5 separate regions of the Homo sapiens genome follow, and all the other regions are linked to region 4. Evidence: promoter capture Hi-C in 16 types of primary human blood cells and fetal thymus (Javierre and others, 2016). All regions are on one chromosome and are shown on one strand. Each heading gives the region's core, a stretch centred on a gene start or on the middle of the fragment in contact. The rest is flanking DNA. Distances are from core to core; before and after follow the strand shown. Region 1 overlaps SHLD1 (shieldin complex subunit 1). Region 2 overlaps SHLD1 (shieldin complex subunit 1). Region 3 overlaps CRLS1 (cardiolipin synthase 1). Region 4 holds the start of TRMT6 (tRNA methyltransferase 6 non-catalytic subunit). Region 5 has its middle 15 kb from the start of LRRN4.

Evidence for each region. The method cuts DNA at HindIII sites, captures the fragments that hold promoters and counts their contacts. A CHiCAGO score of 5 or more calls a contact.
Region 1: a fragment that was not itself captured here is called in contact with the fragment with the promoter of TRMT6 in region 4 in 2 of 17 cell types (naive CD4 T cells and total CD8 T cells); the score reaches 5.5 in naive CD4 T cells.
Region 2: a contact is called between a fragment that was not itself captured here and the fragment with the promoter of TRMT6 in region 4, in 8 of 17 cell types (naive CD4 T cells, total CD8 T cells, naive CD8 T cells and 5 more). The highest score is 14.2, in naive CD4 T cells.
Region 3: a fragment that was not itself captured here is called in contact with the fragment with the promoter of TRMT6 in region 4 in 1 of 17 cell types (naive CD4 T cells); the score reaches 6.6 in naive CD4 T cells.
Region 5: a fragment that was not itself captured here is called in contact with the fragment with the promoter of TRMT6 in region 4 in 1 of 17 cell types (megakaryocytes); the score reaches 6.2 in megakaryocytes.

Annotation. Positions count from the first base shown.
Region 1 is chr20:5,848,891-5,851,590 of GRCh38, reverse strand. All of the region lies in intron 2 of SHLD1 (shieldin complex subunit 1), which reads right to left. Among named protein-coding and RNA genes, the nearest start is that of CHGB, 61 kb to the left of the region's middle. The HindIII fragment of the contact is 2,039 bases long and covers 421-2,459 here.
Region 2 is chr20:5,830,699-5,833,398 of GRCh38, reverse strand. All of the region lies in intron 2 of SHLD1 (shieldin complex subunit 1), which reads right to left. Among named protein-coding and RNA genes, the nearest start is that of CHGB, 79 kb to the left of the region's middle. The HindIII fragment of the contact is 5,167 bases long and covers 1-2,700 here.
Region 3 is chr20:6,035,344-6,038,043 of GRCh38, reverse strand. It overlaps CRLS1 (cardiolipin synthase 1), which reads right to left. Exons shown (of 7, transcript NM_019095.6): 7 at 1-970. The coding sequence ends at 886. Among named protein-coding and RNA genes, the nearest start is that of LRRN4, 17 kb to the left of the region's middle. The HindIII fragment of the contact is 4,678 bases long and covers 1-2,700 here.
Region 4 is chr20:5,949,263-5,951,980 of GRCh38, reverse strand. TRMT6 (tRNA methyltransferase 6 non-catalytic subunit) reads left to right here and starts at 1,448. Exons shown (of 11, transcript NM_015939.5): 1 at 1,448-1,703. The coding sequence starts at 1,576. It overlaps MCM8 (minichromosome maintenance 8 homologous recombination repair factor), which reads right to left and starts at 1,329. Exons shown (of 19, transcript NM_032485.6): 1 at 958-1,329. RefSeq lists an enhancer at 1,313-1,452. The HindIII fragment of the contact is 3,685 bases long and covers 1-2,718 here.
Region 5 is chr20:6,067,409-6,070,108 of GRCh38, reverse strand. No RefSeq gene overlaps it. Among named protein-coding and RNA genes, the nearest start is that of LRRN4, 15 kb to the right of the region's middle. The HindIII fragment of the contact is 9,893 bases long and covers 1-2,700 here.

The sequences.
Region 1 (2,700 bases), core at 191-2,690, 100 kb after region 4:
TAGCTACTAGAACATTTAAAATGACCTATGTTACTCACATAATATTTTTATTGGACAACGGCTGGTGTAGACTTCTCTTTTCTTTTTTTTTTTTTTAAGGAGACAGGGGTCTCACTCTGTTACCTAAGCTAGAGCAGAGTGGCATGATCATAGATCACTGTAGCCTCGAAGTCCTAGGTTCAAGGGATCCTCCCACCTCAGCCTCCTGAGTAGCTAGAACTGCAGGCATGCACCACCATGATGCCCAGCTAATATTTAAAAATTTTTTGTAGAGATGGGGTCTCACCATGTTGGTCAGGCTGGTCTCAAACTCCTGGGCTTAAGTGATCCTCTGGCCTCAGGCTCCCAAGTAGCTGAGATTACAAATATGAGCCACCATTCCTGGATAGACATTCTTTATAGTTGTGGTTTAAGAAAGCTTTGGTTCCAATAATCTTTCCTGAAGATTTGTGTTGAAGCTCCCAGAGATCAGGTGGCATTCGGATGGCAGCCATGTTGATTTGTGCTGTGCTACAATGTCCCCCACTGTTAGAGAGCATGAGACGTCCATACTAGTTGGTCTGTGTGCTGTATTGTCCTCCTTGGCCAGCTGCCCCTGGAGACCACTCCTGCAAAGAAGCAAGGACCAGCCTTCCAAAGTGGCCCACTTGTCCCTCCCTTTCATACTCAATAATTATGGAGCATCGACCAGCCAAGGCACAGGTTCAGCTCAGTGAAGGATGGCCAAGTTCCAGGAGGCAATGCAGAGTAAAGCCGGATGAGAAGTAAAGCTGGGACTGGGCGCCAGGTGCGTTGGCTCATGCCTGTAATCCCAGCACTTTGGGAGGCCCAGGCAAGAAGATCGCGAGGTCAGGAGTTAGAGACCAGTCTGGCCAACATGGTGAAACCCTCGTCTCTACTAAAAATACAAAAATTAGCTGGGTGTGGTGGCACACACCTGTAATCCCAGCTACTCGGGAGGCTGAGGCAGGAGAATTGCTTGAACCCGGGAGGTGGAGGTTGCAGTGAGCCGAGATCACACCACTGCACTCCCACTTGGGCGACAGAGCAAGACTCCATCTCAAAAAAAAAAAAAAAAATTAAAACTAAAAAAAGCTGGAACTGGGAAGGCAAGTCATCCTCAGACAGACCAGGTCGAGGAAGAAAGTTACTTCAGGGAGGGGAAGCCCAGTGCTAGGTGCAGACATGAGAATGCCCAAGAGCCTAGTGAGAGGTGGTCTGGAAGGTGCAGAGAATCCTTACAAGAGAGGAAGAAATGGGGTTAGGCTCTGGAGGGCGTGGGGGCTAGACTAAGAAGCCAGGTAAACACTTCTGCTAACCTTTCAACTTCAGGCATTCCTTTCCATAAACGTGTGCTCTTACTAGAGGGACTGGTACTCAATAGAGTGACTGGAAAGTTTGCCCAGGACAGTCCTGGTTTAGGCCTGTTGTCTCAGTTAATTATTATTATTATTATTATTATTATTATTATTATTATTGAGACGGGGTCTTGCTGTGTTGCCCAGGCTGGTCTTGAATTCCTGGGCTCAGGTGATCCTCCTGCTCCGGCCTCCCAAAGTGCTGAGATTACAGGCATAAGCCATCACCCTAGCCTCAATGAATTTTTTTTTTTTTTTTTTTTTTTTGAGACGGAGTCTCGCTCTGTCGCCCAGGCCGGACTGCGGACTGCAGTGGCGGAATCTCGGCTCACTGCAAGCTCCGCTTCCCGGGTTCACGCCATTCTCCTGCCTCAGCCTCCCGAGTAGCTGGGACTACAGGCGCCCGCCACCGCGCCCGGCTAATTTTTTGTATTTTTAGTAGAGACGGGGTTTCACCTTGTTAGCCAGGATGGTCTCGATCTCCTGACCTCATGATCCACCCGCCTCGGCCTCCCAAAGTGCTGGGATTACAGGCGTGAGCCACCGCGCCCGGCCCCTCAATGAATTATTAATGGCACCCCTTTTCATTTTCTAGAGGGCCCTTGATCACACAATTCATTACATGTATACATGTATTATGACACATTATGCAACCTGGTGCTGGAGGAGTGGGGCTGATATACCTGGGTTAACAGTGGAAAGTTCCTACCACACAGTTATGTCCCAGAGGGCTGAGATTTGATGCTGGAAATCATCCCAGTCCATGTTATAAACAATAAGGTGTCTACAGACTTTTGTTTTTGGCTAAACCTCCACGGATTTGTCCTATGACACTCCAAGCCAATCCTCCTTTCCTTTTCCCTGTTTTCACCACTGGCATTTCTCCCACTTCCTAGCTGTACAAACCTTTTGGTTACTGTCCAGCAAGTGAATTGGCCCTGATTCACTCTGAACCATCGGCACCTCGCTGGAGTTCTCTTTCTGGTTTAGTCTGGCTTTTCCCTGCTGCGTCGTAACACCAGGGTTGGAGTTCTAGGGCACCTTACATCCTATCTTATTAGTTACATAAAATTAGTTACAGAAAAACAATAAACTTAAGCTTCCTTTTTCCTAATAGCAACCCTGCCTTCCACGATTCATATATTTTAGAATTTGCAACTGTTCCTTTAAAGGACAAAACCACATCCTCACAAAGTGAGAGTGTGTGGATATCAAGATATTTAATACAAATTAACATTTCAAAGGGATGGATGGTTTGGTCAGGTGCTTTTGAAACCACAGTCTCTGTACTTGTTTATATCTGAAAGTTCAAACTGGATGAATCACTCAGAGGGAAAGTGGC
Region 2 (2,700 bases), core at 153-2,652, 120 kb after region 4:
CCAATGGACAACCTCATTTAAATGAGTATTATTTCAACATTTCGGAAGTCCGAAATAATCTGTACACCAAACCCGAGTTGTGAGTTTACCTATATAATAAACCTGCACGTGTACCCCTCAACCTAAAATAAAAGTTAAGATATTAAAAAACAAATAAATATTTCAGGAGTCTAAAGCAAAACTGGGGACAAGCTCAGAGGAGTCTCGTGGAAAAAAAGTCAAAAAGGAGAGAAGCCGAGGAGTCTATTTTAGGACTGTTTTAGGAGTCTATTTTTAGGAGGAAAGAGCAAGAGTACTAGCACTGTATGGTGTATGCACCAGGAGCACAGCAGCCCAGGAGCTCCAGGTCAGGAGAAGGAGGACACGTCAGCCATGCAACACTGGCCAGTCACCGCATGGTTCCAGAAATGTAAGCAACAGCACAGCCTTGCACAACTGCTCAGATACCCTCTACCTGGAAAAGCAAATCTTCTGTTATAATTCTCAGGAGAGGACCAGGATTAATGGGATTTTAAGGTCTAAAATATGTTGGATACCTGCTTTTTTCCCCATTTATTTATTTATTTATTTATTTATTTATTTATTTATTTATTTATTTATTATTTTGATTTCCAGCTTTTAAGTTCAGGGGTACACATGCAGGCTGAGCAGGTTTGTATGATCCCTGCTTTCAGGATGAGACTGAGGATGATTATATTAGTAGACTGCATGGTTTTACCCCGGAAGAATACTTTTTTTTCGTGATTTGGAGCATAATGTATATACTAGCCAAACTAATCTTAAAAATTTAAGCCGTAGCTGGGTGTGATGACACATGCCTATAGTCCCAGCTATTCAGGAGACTGAGGCAGGTGGATCACTTGAGCCCAGGAGTTTGAGACCAACCCAGGCAACATAGCAAGATCCTGTCTCTAAAAAAGAAAATTAAATAAATAAAATTTAAGTGGTGAATAAGAGGAGCTGAGTTACAAATTATGGCTTACTATTTTCCAGCAAGACGTGAAAGCCCCGATCTTAATCCAAGTTACACCTTTGTATTTGGAGTAAAGAAAATCAAAGTGGCAACACGTGCAGTTCCACTCTGCCCGAGGAGCTTTTAACAATGTGGAGAAGTCTGTCTCCTGGATTCACTTCCATTATTCTCTAGAAATGAAGAGAGGCCCAGCGCAGAGGCTCATGCTTGTAATCCCAGCACTTTGGGAAGCCAAGGTGGGCAGATCACTTGAGGCCAGGAGTTTGAGACCAGCCTGGCCAACATGGTGAAACCCCATCGCTATTGAAAATACAAAAATTTGCTGGGCGCAGTGGTGCGCGCTTGTAATCCCAGCTACCTGCGAGGCTGAGGTGGGAGGATCACTTGAAGCAGGTAGGCGGAGGTTGCCAAGACAGCTGCACAGCATTCCAGCTTGGGCAAAAGAGCAAGGCTCCGTTTCAAAGAAAGAAATGAAAAGAAAGGGTGGGGAACACGGGGCAGAGAGCATGAAAGCACATGTATTATAGGAAAAGCCAAAGAAGAAAAAAAAATACAACAAAATAGTAAGAGCTTCCCTCTGTAGAAGGATTATGAGTGTTTACCTTTTTCTTCTTTGTGCTTTTTTCACATTTCACATTTCCTAATCTTCTACAATGAACATGTAAACAAGAAAATTGAGAGAGAGAGAGAGAGAGAGATCAAAGGGATTCGGCAACTGAAATGGAGACAACTCCAGGGAAGCAACACAACTACTGTCACTTAAAAGCGAATCTTTGCTGCTGCCTCAGGTAGGGCTTCTGTTCATCTTCCTGTTTCTTCAAGGCCACAGTCCATCACTTGTCCAGTATTTATTAAATGTTTGCCGGCCAGTCACCACATGGTTCCAGAAATGTAAGCAACAGCACAGCCTTTCATATCTCCTGAATGGAGATATGAAAGGTGGGCTGTTGGCTTCAACGAACTTGTGGTCAAGGAATATTCAAAAGAAATAAAATACGTAAAGTAGTATTAACCGCTAAACTATGCTCTTTTGATGATGGCTGTAAATTACAGCTTACAGAGAACAGAAGCTAGAGGTGCTATAAAGACTTCACTGAGCCAAGAAACCTGAGTTGACCCCCAAAGGAGGTGGGGAGTTGGATAAATGCTTATGGTTCTTCACAAAAAGACCATGGCTAGGCTGAAGTATCTCAACAGTTTCTTTTGGTAGGTAATAAAGTTCTGCTTAAAGACAATTAAATACTTGTGTGACCTTTAACCTTGGATCACTGTCATTTTCAATGGTCTGCACTGCTGTGGTGTTCCTTTTCTCATAAGCCAGCACGAAGCACCCACCTAGAGGTGAAGCACAGAAGGATGGTGACCAACTCTTCCTTAAATTATTGCAATGCCTTATTTTCAAACTGATTTTTTTTTACTTTTTATTAAATTATAACGTGCGTATATCAAAGTGCCTAATGCATAATGTAGTCCCTAAAAAATTAAATAAATAAATAAAATTTAAGCGGTAATAAGAGGAGCTGAGTTACAAATCATGGTATATAATATTCATGGTATACTAAATCATAAGCTCTATTAACTTTTACAAACTGAATATACCCAGTATAATCAGCACTGAGATCAAGAAACAGAACAGCACCAGAACCCCAGAAGACCTCCTTTTGCCTCCTTTCAACTATTACCTTCTAAGACTTACCACCATTCTAACACCTACATTGCTTTTTTTT
Region 3 (2,700 bases), core at 51-2,550, 86 kb before region 4:
TTTTTTTCCAGCTCTTTTATTCCTTTAACTGCTTAACAAAAGAAAGAGTCTCCAAAGTTTAAAAAACCTTTGAAAAATATACAGCTTGATATTATTTACATAAAATATGAATCCAGGTTCCAATATCAAACAAACATTGCTATGTCAGAAACACAGTGGAAGGCAGGAACGTAACTCACTGCCTTTTAGATGCAAAGACTAATAGACACGTTCTCCTATCTCGACTATCTTTGTTACCTGTTATCCTCAAACATAAATTATTAGGCACCTGAGAGGTTGGAAGACTACCGAAAATGAACTTCATACCTTCTGTATGATTATTATCTTAAAAAGTTACCGCATTTTTAATCTCTTTTATAACTTTACTTCATCTACAACTAACTTCACTTTCATTATCCCAAATGATCAGGTATTAATTACATGAACTGTTAATGTATACACAGACCTAAAAATCAAACAAAAATGTATTGCCCAGTTGTGTAGGATATATATTTGAACCCCATGACATTTCCTAGTGCTTTGTGAGCAATCCAAATTTCACTTAAAAGAGAGGTGTCAATTCTGCCCATGCTCTGGACTATGTTTTTAAAAAACATACAAAAAAGACTGACAATAATTGATCTCTTATAAATTAATCAAGAAACCTAAGATTAAAAATTCTAAATTACAATTTTATTTGTATTTAAAAATACATTGGAAATTCTGCATATTCCCATGATCAACCTTATTTTCAATGCACATTACTTAAATTTTGATGACACAGTTGATTCTGACAAGTCCTTTTTCAAGCTGAACACCAAAATAGGGAAACTCCTGTACATTTCCATGGGCCCTGTTCCCATTGATGTATACTGCTTCCTTACTAACAGTGAGGGATGACTTTCATCAGTCTTTTATCACCTGAACAGTCTTCCGGCCATAATGATAGTAACTATAAGCTGATGCAGCTGTGGTGAAAGCTGTAAAACACCTTTTATGGAAGAAAAGAAATAAAATGTAGTTGTCAAGTCTAAAAAATAGTAGCAACGGGAATCATAATGAATACATGCAATGAATTTAAAATGTAAAAATGAATTTAAAAAGTAAAAAGGGCTCTGTGGTGTAATTTTTCTTAACTACAAGAGTCTAAATACACTGCTTTTCTTTAAGAGTTCATTTTAATTAGTAACGTCAAACAAAATTATTCTAGATAATGAGCCCTACAAATTACTACTACTAGCAACTGTCATTTTTTACTCGGGCATCCTCTAGGTGTCTTACATTCTCATTTTATTCTTACAACGAACTCATCCTCCAGAAGGACTTCATCCTCCAGAAGGACTCATCCTCCAGAAGGACTCATCCTCCAAAGGACTTCTCCAGAAGGGGGAAATGGAAGACCCGGGTAACTTGCTCAGGGCTTATCACAGAACTATGTTTGAGCCTGACTTCGTTTGAACTCTAAAGCCCACATGCTCTTTCTACTGCCCCATGCTTCTCAGGGTACCAGACTCTTATTTCCTGCAGCTTTTGAGAATTCTAAAGATACCTGAGTCATTTTAAATAAATTTCAGCTTTCTTTACCAAACTACCCTTAACCGGATTCTCCTTGAAATGACATCACCTGACACCCATGGCATGCTGCATGCCCACAGCTAGATTACTTTTTAGTGCGCCCACGCACTTCTGCTTTTATTAGGTGAGGCAGAATCAAGATTCCCTTTTGTTGGATCTTGAACCTGTTCATGCCACTTTGATATTCTAAATTCATACATAAACCAATGAAATATATGTGTTAGAAAAATTGCTATTTCTAGCTGGACGCAGTGGCTCATGACTATAATCCTACCACTTTGGCAGGCCGAGGCAGGAGGATTGTTTGAGGCCAAGAGTTTGAGACCAGCCTGGGCAACATAGTGAGACCCTGTTTCTACAAAAAATAATAATACAAAAAATTAGTGGCTGGGCACAGTGGCTCACACCTGTAATCCCAGCACTTTGAGAGGCTGAGGCGGGTGGATCAACTGAGGCCAGGAGTTCGAGACCAGCCTGACCAACAAGGTGAAATCCCGCCTTTACTAAAAATACAAAAATTGGCCAGGTATGGTGGTGGGCGCCTGTAATCCCAGCTACTCAGGAGGCTGAGGCAGGAGAATCGCTTGAACCCGGGTGGTAGAGGTTGCAGTGAGCTGAGATCAGGCCATTGCACTCCAGCCTGGGCAACAGAGCGAGACTCTGTCTCAAAAATAAATAAATTAATTAATTAAAAAAAAATAGCCAGGTGTGGTGGTGGCACATGCCTGTAATCCCAGCTACTCAGGAGGCTGAAGCTGAAGGATCGCTTGAGGCCAGGAATTCAAGGTTACAGTGAGCTATGATCATGCCACTGTACTACAGGCTGGGTGACAGAGCAAGACCCTGTCTCCAAAAAAATAAAATAAAAATTTTTTTAATTGCTATTTCTGAAAACTACATTGGATGCTTTAGAAAGACTCAATAAAGGTGACTTGATTAAAAAAAAAATACTGTCTCTCTCTTCATGGGTTCCTAGGGGAAAAAAATACTGTCAAAATAAATAGACAAGATGATTGTGAAAAGACTAGGGAAAATATCTAAACAGTTCTTAGACTGCTTTGCAAATGTTTTAAGTTCTTGCATCACCTTAAAGAAGTAAAAAATGAAAATCAGAGAGGTTTGTATTATGGATGTAGTTTATCCGAG
Region 4 (2,718 bases), core at 199-2,698:
CAAAACTGTAAGGAAAATAGTGCTCTTAAAAATGTATTAATAAAAAGGGAAAAATTAATGTATTCTAGGTTCAAGAGTAGCAAACAGGCTTGCAAAGTTGTACAGCTATGATACAAGACCCAAATATTCTGCAGTTAAGTTTCTAATCTCTATCGCTTTTTAAGGTATACCATAATAGTTTAATAACTATTAAATATGGTTTACGTATACTAGACGCTCACAGGTTAAAAATAAGGACAGGTACTGTACCTGTTTACAAGTCCCCATTACAGAAATGAAAATAGGACAGGTAATTAACTCTATGAAAACTTATTTGCAGTATTTGAGACTTCTTATTATAGGGCAGGACAGGATGAACATAATTCTGGCCTGTGAGACACTAGGGATACATCATCATAGCTTCTTACATACAGTCAATCCTGCAGTGTCACATCCATTTTTTGTGCAGTTTTTCTGTAAATCCAAAACTGTTCTTATAAAATACACGTCTACTTAAAAATGATTCATATCCTAAGTATACAAGTAAATAAAGATATACCTGTACGCTGCAGTGCAATTCATTATCAAATACTCTACCCAAATCCTTACTTAAAAGGGGTTTAGTTAATAAAACAAGATAGTAACTAGAAAGTTCACGATTTAACGGCATGACAGGGCTCCAATAATTAGGCATTACACATTATGAAACTGATGCTCAAAGAAATTAAGCAAACCGATCAAGATCAAAGTTGTTTGTCGACAGTACAGAGATAAAACTTTCAGCCTCCCAAGCTGAGGCGCTCCTTCAACAACGCTGCGTGCCATACCCTTCTCAAACGAGACAATATGCTGAGAACAGTAACAAATTCAAAAAAACGTTAAGAAGTAGGACTGGAGAAAGAGTAAAAAGAAACAGTTGGGTACCTGTGCTTCTTCAAATACTACTTTATTTACATCTCCTAAGGCTAAAGTTCTTACTTGCTTGGGACAGAGGTCCCAAAGCTCTCCTAGTTCACAACTGGGCCGGCTCCAGGATACGCGCAGATCTGTCCGGCCGGATTCTCCCTCCCTCCCTCCCGTAGAGAAGCACCACGGGGCTAAGAGTCTCCGGGATCTTAGCTCCTCAGGCGACTCCTGCCAAGTCCGCAGTTCTCTTCAGCCGCAGCTTTCCTGTCGTCCCCGCGCGGTGCTGAACCCCATCTGTCTCAACGGCTCGGGAAACTCAGTTTCCCCACCGCAGCTTCCAGAAGGTGTCTGTAGCGCACAGCGCCGCAAAAATGCCTCAAGCGAAAATCAGGTCTTCCCCTAAATTCTTTTTTGGCGCTTCAGTGATCCAACTTCCGCTCAAAGAAGCGGCAAGACGAGAGGGGCGGGGCGGAGTGCAGCCAATCAAGGAGTTTGGCCAGACGGAAGCCGAGAGGCTTCCGGAAGCGGTCTTGAGGTCTGGGCCGGAAAGCGGAAGCGGCGTGCAACACGTGGGGGCGGTGCCGGTCGGAGGGCTCCTAGTGCGCCAGGTTGTGGGAAGTGAGGCTGGCGGTGGCGACAACCGAGGAGGAGGGGCGGGACGCCGTGGAGCACGGCGACCGGCTGAGCGTCATGGAGGGCTCAGGGGAGCAGCCGGGCCCACAACCACAGCATCCCGGAGACCACCGCATCCGCGACGGCGACTTCGTGGTGCTGAAACGTGAAGATGTGTTTAAAGCAGTACAAGTCCAGCGGAGAAAGTAAGTCAGATCGCTGATTTTAGGGGTCTCCCGCCCCCACCTTGTAGATACCCCCTCCCTCCAGGTTTCTCCACAGAATTCTTCCGCCAGGGTGCCATTCTTGGCTCTCTCGGTCCCCATTCCCCGCCCTCGTTGTCTCCTCGGGTCTTTCTGTCACAGAAGGCTTTTCCACCAGGATCCCGTCTTCGAACCTCATAATCTCCCTTAACCCTCCTGTTTTTCCCGGAGCCCCCTCCATGATTTCATATCTGGCCGTCCACCTTCAGCATCCTTTTCAGTCTTTCCACAGAGTTCCTTCCCCAGAATTCCATTCTTGGCCCTAGGGTGCCAATGCCTCCCTCTCCACACCCTAATCACCTGTCCTGAAGTTCTTTCCCTAGGACCTTGGGATCTTCACTGTCTTTCCAGAGACACCCCCTCCTTTCTTCACTTTAGGATCTCATCCTTGTCTCCAGAGTCTCCTTCAGGTTCCCCCTTTTTTTCCACCATAGATCCTCCTTCTTCCCTAATCCCCCAGTCAGGATCTATCCCACAAAAAATGAAACGTCTCCTACCTAGTCTGGCTTTCTATCCTCTTCTCTACCCAAGCAGGATACACAGAATAGATGAAGGAGACAATTCACCACAGAGTGTGGAATCACTTTGAGTTTCCCTCGTTTTACTCACCAAAGGATTCAACGCTGGGAAAATTGCTAAAAAGCAATTTGCTCAAGGCCTCAGAACTCCAAATTAGGTTTGGTTTGTGCACCTGCTGGCTAGTATCGCTCTGTTTTATAGAAGTAAAGAAGTGGGATTTTGATAACTTTCTGGAAGGGCTGGTGAGGTTGTTAAGTCCTAAGAGCTTATTAATGGTGAAAATTTATTGGGATATTTGGATTAATTTATCTGAGAAATACAACCACAGTGTTTTTGTTTTTGAGACGGAGTCTTGCTTTGTCACCCAGGCTTTAGGGCAGTAGTGCAATCTCGGCTCATTGCAGCCTCTGCCTCCGAGGTTCAAGCGATTCTCCTGCCT
Region 5 (2,700 bases), core at 107-2,606, 120 kb before region 4:
AACAAGAACATATTTTTAATTAGAAAAATAGTTTATCAGCTTATTTTCAAATAAGTGTGATGGTTTGTGTGACAGTTTGGATCATTGTTCAGCAAATATTTTCTCCCCTCTCCTCTCCTACCATGGGTGGCACATACTACCTGCCCACTTACTGTTGGACTTGGCCGTTTGACTTCCTTTGGCCCAGAGGCTGCCACTGTGCTTTTGCAATCCTTTTGCACTCCTGCCTCCACTGTGAGAACAGGATTCCCCAGGTCATCACCTGAGCCACTGAATGGAATCCATGTAGCAGATCTAAATGGAGTCCACAGCCTGGAGCCAAGCCGAGCTAGATCAGCTGACCCACAGACAATTTGTGTGGGAACAAATTCTTGTTATTGTAAGCCACTGAGTTCTGGAGCAGTGTGTTAAGCAGCATCATTGTGGAATAGCTGACTAATGCAGGATGAGATATCCCCAAAAAGGAGAATAAGAAATCTATCCCATTCTAGCGGTATCCTAAGACACAGCTGATGGCATTTCAGAGTGTGTCTTTCTCATCTTTATACCATCCTGTCTCCTGGTTTTTGTTTTTGTATTTTAATAAGCTATCTATTAAGCCATTTGAAATTCATGGAAATTGGCCAGGCACAGTGGCTCACGCCTGTAATCCCAGCACTTTGGGAGGCCAAGGCAGGTGGATCACCTGAGGTCAGGAGTTCAAGATCAGCCTGACCAACATGGAGAAACCCCATCTCTACTAAAAATACAAAAATTAGCCAGGCGAAGTGGAGCGCACCTGTAATCCCAGCTACTTGGGAGGCTGAGACAGGAGAATCACTTGAACCTGGGAGGTGGAGGTTGCAGTGAGCTGAGACCATGCCATTGTAGTCCTCCATTGATTACAGTCCATCTCCACCACAATCAGGTCAAGATATATCCCCGACTCAGGTGTAATAATCTGGGACCTTTGTATCATGCATGTGTTTTCTTCAGAGACTCCGGTGTCTCTCTGCCAACACAACCCCATTATTCCGGCCATGCCATCAGGTTAAATAATTTGCTGAATTTCAGGGTAGGTTGACAGGTTGCCATAGCAGTCAAATAGGCCCCAGGAGCAACAGGGATACCAAAATGGTAAGTGGCTTTGCAAACCAATGATAGAGCAAGTGAAATCAGCTCCCACCTCTCCAAAAAGCAGTCTCAACAATAATATAGCAAACATTTACATGGCTAAAAGAATTAGAAAACTCGTGTGTATTAAGGGCTATCACTTTTGTCTCCTATGAGTTCTCTCAATTCATCCCCTAGGTGAGGAAGGTATTATCAGCCCATTGTACAAAGTAGAAAACATGCAGTGGTGCACTGGTAAATGTTTACAACTCTGTGGACTGGGGAAACACTGATTTGCCAATTCCCATGGTATAAAGATTCCCACCACAGCCAACATGATGTCAGTGAACACAGAGTTGGGAAGAAATGCAAACATCCGTCTTTCCAGTGGGGATAAACCAGCTCCAGCACACATCGGAACTGTGCACAGAGAGGTCAAGCAACTTGTCAAAGTCACTCAGCTAGTATGTGGGAAGCAAGGATTTGTATGAAAATCTTCTGACTTGAGCTTGCTCCTCAACACTACTCTTGATTTCCCATGAGAAGGCAAGGCCTCCGGAGCCAAGGACCCTAGATAGTCTTTACTCGTGACAATGTCCTTGAGTTGATTTTTCTCAGAACATGTTTGAGTAAGACCTACAGAACTCCATAGACACTTTTTTCTTCCAATTACTTTACACTAGGTTTCAAATGCCAAAATAGTGAAAATTTCTGCTAAAAAGTTCTCAGATTCCCACTGTTGGTCCAATGTAACGTTTGCTTGCAAATCTGGGTGAGAGGTGGAGTTAAGAAGGGGAGGAAAGGGTTCTGCCTTTTTTCCCGACAAAGACGACACCAAACCAGAGGACTTTCCACCCCTACAACTGGTTGGCCCAACTCTCACTAGTGTGTGGCAATCGTTGGTGCCAAGTCCTACCAGAGAGAGGTGACTTTTCCTAAGGGACTGAGTTCTGTTTCTAGAGGCTGCATGAAATGTTTTTACCCTGACCTTTTCCTCCTTTTATAAGGTTCTTTTAATCAGGTAGACATCAGGAGAGCAAACAGGCAGCCAACACTTGGCAAGAACCTGCTGAATCCATTGCATGTAACTCAAGCAAAGTTCACCCTTTTAAGATAAGGGGCTGCACATGTTACTGTGTGTTGGGGTAAGAAACATACATGGGCACAGTTGGTCAGATATGAGACCACAGGGATTTGTGAGGCATGCCCTTAGTATTCATGATTATGGTTTTTGCTTTGTTTTGTTTGAGATGGGGTCTCATTCTGTCACCCAGGCTGGAGTGCAGCAGTGCCATCTCAGCTCACTGCAACCTCCACCTCTACGCTCAAGCAATCCTCCCACCTCAGCCTCCCAAGTAGCTGAGACCACAGGCACGCACCACCACACCTGGCTAATTTTTTGTGATTTTGGTAGAGACAGGGTTTCGCCATGTTGCCCAGACTGGTCTTGAACTCCTGAGCTCAGGAGATCCACTGGCCTCAGCCTCCCAAGGTGCTAGGGTTATAGGCATGAGCCACCGCACCCGGCCATTTATATATGGCATGAGCCACTGTGCCATACCTAAAATCAGCTGCTGCAGAACTAAAATGAGCAGATTGCAATTGTGG